Regions from separate parts of the Homo sapiens genome. Here region 1 is linked to region 2. The links are contacts of gene promoters, found by promoter capture Hi-C in human tissues and cell types (Jung and others, 2019). All regions are on one chromosome and are shown on one strand. Each heading gives the region's core, a stretch centred on a gene start or on the middle of the fragment in contact. The rest is flanking DNA. Distances are from core to core; before and after follow the strand shown. Region 1 overlaps RGS22 (regulator of G protein signaling 22). Region 2 holds the start of COX6C (cytochrome c oxidase subunit 6C).

Region 1 (3,036 bases), core at 91-2,590, 89 kb after region 2:
AGGACTTAGAACACAGCTGGCTCTCAAATGAATCTAAGAATAATCGCCTTTTTCCATGCTCAAGGGCAATAATACCCTAAGTCTCTGTTTCATATCACTTCATTCATGACATGGCCTTCCCTATTACCCCTATTATAATTTATTTTTCTTAATCATTTTTTAGTAACAACATCACTAAAAGGCTTTTTAAAATGCAAATAAATTATGTTCACCAAGTCACTGTTTTCTATTATTTATCTTAAAAAGAAGTAACTTGAGCAGGTTAACAGGCACAATTTTCCTTTCATGAGTTTGTATACTTTATGTTGGTAGAGTTCTTAAATCTCTTCTCACTTATTTTATGAGCTATGTGAATATTCCAATCTTTAAAAATACACAAATCTTGGGACACACATATTTTACACATTTTTGTGGTAGCAGATATTTTAAAAGGAATTACCAATAGTGGAAAAGAAAGGAGGAATTAGCTGGAGGTTAACAAGTTAAAAACAAAAATGGTAACCATGGAAAGCCAAAAGGTAATATTTAATTTTATTTACTGTATATGATCACGAAAAAAACTGCATTTAAGTTACTAGCTTTTTATATTTCAGTCACATATGCAAAGATTATTTAAATTAAATAGAATAAGTCCCAGTATTGGGAGGACTGGAACCTTGTCAAATATGAATAACGTACAAGCTTTAAAAGGATATCTATCTTTTTAATTTTTATTTACTTTTTTTTAGGTTTTTTTTTTTTTTTTTTTAAGAGACGGGGTTTCACTATGTTGCCCAGGCTGGTCTCAAACTCCTGAGCTCAAACAATCTGCCTGCCTCAGCCTCCCAAAGTGCTGGGATTACAGGCGTGAGCCACCACGCCTGGCCCAAAAGGATATCTATCTTTAAAAGGATTGTCAATCTATTTTAAAATATGCTTAGCCACATGCCCTGATCTCTTACCTGTGCCTCTCTAAATACATATGGTCCTAACTCCTTCCGGTGTTCAATAATCTTCTGGGCTTGCTCTACTGGAATGTCAATTTGTAAAGCTGGTGGAATACTGGAATTAATAAAGCAGTTGATAATAGTTGTAATCTTCTTCTGGATGACAGACTCATCACAATGAGAATGGCACAAGTCCTGAACAGAAGGAAAGATAGAATGGTATATAATTAATGCATTACCAGAACACTTAATAGAACTGTATCAATATGTGTTTCAATTAATATATGCATTTCAACTTTAGGTCAAGAAGGCAGTGGGATATTTCAAGGCTGTCTTTAAAAAATTACAGATTTTCTTTCTCTTGGATTTGAGGAACCTAAGACTTTGATACATCTACATTACATAAATACAGATTTCATATAATCCTGATCACTTATTCCTCTAGGCAAAGGAATGACATTAGTATCTACTTTGACTCATTTAACAACCGTATAATGAGGGCCTGTTATATACCAGACACTGAGCTGAGCCTCAAGACACAGGCCCTACCCTTTTAAGGTTCAATCTCCACTGGAGGAGAAGTGTGAGAACATGTTGCTCCTATTTTGGATAGTTAATAAATGTTATGATAGAGGTATACATAGTATCCTAGGAGAACATTGAGAATAGGCACCTAACTCCACCTACAGGTGGATATAAAAGCTTTCCCGTCCAGTCCTGCTTCTACGCCAAGGTGATTTAGGCTCAAAAAGGTACTGGGCATGCTGGTTGTCAACAGGTGTGCCATTCTATATCTTTTATTATCTATGTTGTGTAGTTACCCTATTGTATTATCCTCTTTATAGATAACCTAAAATTAATGATCACACATTAAAATGAGCCACTTAAAAAATTGTCAACATTTATTTTAGACACGGGGGTACATGTGCAAGTTTGTTGTATGGGAATATTACGTGATGCTGAGGTTTGGGGTACAGATCCTGTCACTTAGGTAGAGCGTAGTACCCAACAGGTAGGTTTTCAACCCACCCTCCCCTCACTACCTGTTCTAGTAGTCAGCAGTGTCTATTATTCCCATATTTATGTCCATGTGTGCCCAATGTTGAGCTCCCACTTATAAGTGAGAACGTGTGGATTTTGGTTTTCTTTTCCTGCATTAATTCTCTTAGGATAATGGCCTCCAGCTCCACCCACACTGCTGCAAAGGACATGATTTCATTTTTTTATGGCTATGTAGTCTTCCACGGTGTATATGTACCACATTTTCTTTATCAATCTACTACTGATGGGCACCTGGGTTGATTCCATGTCTTTGCTATTGTGAATAGTGCAGTGATGAACATATGTGTACATTTATCTTTTTGGCAGAATTATTTATTCTCCTTGGGGTATACATCCAGTAATGGGATGGCTGGGTCAAATGGTAGCTCTGTTTTAATTTCTTTGAGAAATCTCCAGACTGCTTTCCACAGTGGCTGGACTAATTTACATTCCCACCAATAGTGTGCAAGTGCCCCCTTTTCTCTGCAGCCTCACCAAGCAGCTGTTATTTTCTGACCGTTTAATAATAGCCATTCTGATTGGTGTGAGATGGTATCTCACTGTGGTTTTGATTTGCATTTCTCTGATGATTAGTGATGCTGAGCATTTCTTCATGTTTCTTGGCCATTTATATACCTTTTGAGAAGTATCCGTTCATGTCCTTTGCCCAAAATGAGCTAGTTTTAAAGTCACAGGTGTAGGACTATCATTTTTTAAAATAAAGAGGTAGTTTAGCTCAAATTATGGCATTTCTCTGTCAAAGTCATTATTTTCCAAATCATCAGAAAGCAAATTTGGAAACTTCTCACTTTAGGCCCAGAAATGAACCAACATTTATTAAGTACCCAGTATATGCTGGGCATTGTAATAGCTCTACTATGGATATTACAAAAGAAACAAAAATTCTGATGTCTTTCATGTAAAACTTTATATATAATTTGGTATAAGTTAAGTGTGAAAAAAGCTTAATATAATGTTACATTGTGACAATTAGCACTTCATACTCAATTTAGCATCACCTTAGAATAAAGCCTATTTAGGCCAGGTGTGGTGGCTTATGCCTGTAATC
Region 2 (2,724 bases), core at 54-2,553:
AAATTCAGGAATAAGATTTGGGTTGAGACATGGGTGAGGGGCGGCACTGAAGTCCAATACTCAGGTCTCTGCGTCCTGCATACCTCATGTAGCTCTCACTACTCTGAGCTTTTTTTCCCTTTCTCGGGTAAAATAATAAAAGAAAAACTCAGAAAAGATATCAAAAGGAATTCTCATGCATAGTACATTTTACTACCTAGAGAGGCACAGCACGACAGTGGATGGATTCCTCCCACAAAGCCTAAGCTGTCTCTTGGCTTAGCCTGTTTCATCTTCCCCCCGCCCCCCATATACTGAGCGACCACCCTAAATAAACGCGACAAACTGCGGCACACTAGTAATGGACGAGCAAAGGCAACAAAAATCTTTCCAACAACAAGAAAAATAAGCAGTAGCTCCGCATTGGTAATTAACGATTGCAAACCCATTTATGCAACACTTTCTCTTCTAAAAATTTTCTGTCCACTCGTTAAACCTTCGCGACAACCCTGTCAGATCATGAGGCAGGTGTTTTCCACGGTCACACGGTATACCATTAAAACCTGGACGGGAACGCGGCAAATACCATGAGGGCCCAAATTCCCTAACTGCTCCTTTGCCCAGCCTCACCTAAAGACCTAAGGGGCCTAAAAACTTTTGCGTCCCTGCTGGCCTTCAGCTAACGCGGCCGGGGGTAGGATGGGAAGCCGTGGGGCAAGGGAGGTTGCAGGAAGCCCATCCTTCCCCTCCTGCGGCAGGTACGGTGACCCTCCTCCAGTTTTCCAGCTCTAATTTAAAACGCTGCCACACAGCGAGCGACGCTGCCAGCTGCTTCGCCTACACTAACCCTTGCGCCTCACGACCAGCTGCATTAGAAACCACCACCCCTTTTCTCACGGGAGAAACACCGGGGCCAGATAGGTCAAATGACCTCACCAAGGTCACAATGGCTGTGAAAAAGCGCAGCGGGTACCAGCCCCGGGCCAGCTCACTCCGAAGCCAGCTGGGTTCTCGAGGGTCCCGCAGCCCACCCGGCTTCGGTGGGGCCGTCGCAACCCACCCCGGTCCGTGGTCCGCCCGCCGCCCTCCCTCAGGCCGCAGCGGAAGCGTGAGAGAGTAGATGCGGGAGAGGCCTGAAGCTGCACCACGGCGGAGACACACAGTCACGACTAAATCCGAGGCAGAGAGAAAGCGGGAGGGTGCCGTTGTGACAACCCGCAGTGTCGGGGTAGGGATGCAAAAGGGACCGGACTCACCTCAACACCAACGTCCTTCCTGACTAAAGGAAAAACGAACCGTGCTGTAGCCGCGCGCAGGCGCAGAATAAGAGTGCACAGCGAGAACGCGGCGACGGTAGCCGAAGGAGTTCAAAAGACCTCTAGTGCGCCCACCGCAGGTGACAGCCGAAGTTCATTTCGTGGTCTGCTTCTTTCCTGTGTGACCTTGCAAAACGGGCTTGACCTCCTTATTTATCGACCTCTTTATCTTCTTAGTAAATTGAAGATATTAGTCGTACTCATACACAGAGTCCCAAACCATGTGCACAAACCGACATTTTAATTATAACCAACCTTACGCGAATAACCGTTTGGCTTGGGTAAAAGTGAAAAAGCTGACTTCTAGGAGCTCACAGCCCAGAAGATGAAAAAGACAAACAGATTAATACCGATCCCATGCAGTGGGCACTACCACAGAGACGTGGCCCAGCTACTGCAGAAGCAATTCTCTACCTGGCAAAGCTGAGGACGTTTTGATAGAGGGGCGGTATTTTTGTGGGTTTCTTAAGAAAACAAGGATTTTGAAGGAAGGCAACTGGAAGTTCGTGGAAAGTGGTGTAGAAGGGTGAGGCTCTTGTGCCTTAATGATGCCAGGCTGTTTGTATTGAAATAACCTGAATTTTAAAAGCATTATTTAAGTCAACCCATCAAGCCCTGTGGAAGGTAGCTGGGACACAACAGATGCATGATATTGAGTCGATATATACACTGAGTACCTACTATGTGCCAGATTCTGCTAAACAAGAGGACAGATCTTCGGGGAGTCTCATTCTGATCAGGGAGTCTTTGTCCTCAACCTATTAACCAACACTCTGGAGGGTGAAACCTGGCCACAAAGAAAGGTGCTCAATTGAGGTTCAAAAGTAGGTTTGGACTTTACCAACGTTTTTCAGGCCTCTTATCAAGGGTCTACCCAGCTGAAAATCTTTGCATGGAATTTGTCCAGAGAGTAATTTGTTTCTATTCTCTTTCCATCCCCACCCCCAGAGAAGAAGTGGTGAACTTAAGAGTTCACAGGGATTAGTGTATGTGAAACCATCAGGGAAAGCTTCAGACAATACGTGGAAGAGATGGAAGCAGAGCTGAGTTTCAGTCTAATGGAAAGCCTGGAAAACTGGAGAAATTGGAGAGAAAACATTGGCTGGGAGAACATGGCAAAGACAGGCACACTCAGGGCACAGAGCCTGACCTGAGTGAAATACTGAGTGTTTGTTCTGTGCTTCCCTAGCTATCCAGTGAACCATAGTGAATGACTGAGGGTGACACGTGAATAAAACCTGAGCGATAGATGAAGAGAGACATGTTACATATAGGTTCTGTTCTAGAGCCGAACAGACCTGGATTTGAGTCCCAGCTCATCAACTTGTAGCGGCAAATTTCTTCATCTTTCTAAGTCTGCTTTCTCCTCTAAAAATAGTACCCATTTTGTTGGGTTGTGATGTAAATTAAATGGGATAATGTATATGCA

What was found. The method cuts DNA at HindIII sites, captures the fragments that hold promoters and counts their contacts. A contact is called where the count stands out against the background at its distance.
Region 1: a contact is called between a fragment that was not itself captured here and the fragment with the promoter of COX6C in region 2, in 3 of the 25 tissues and cell types used here (adrenal gland, bladder and heart right ventricle).

Annotation. Positions count from the first base shown.
Region 1 is chr8:99,980,996-99,984,031 of GRCh38, forward strand. It overlaps RGS22 (regulator of G protein signaling 22), which reads right to left. Exons shown (of 28, transcript NM_015668.5): 22 at 942-1,121. Among named protein-coding and RNA genes, the nearest start is that of SNORD77B, 22 kb to the right of the region's middle. The HindIII fragment of the contact is 3,789 bases long and covers 1-3,036 here.
Region 2 is chr8:99,892,404-99,895,127 of GRCh38, forward strand. COX6C (cytochrome c oxidase subunit 6C) reads right to left here and starts at 1,304. Exons shown (of 4, transcript NM_004374.4): 1 at 1,236-1,304. RefSeq lists enhancers at 146-794, 795-1,442 and a silencer at 916-1,085. The HindIII fragment of the contact is 7,152 bases long and covers 1-2,724 here.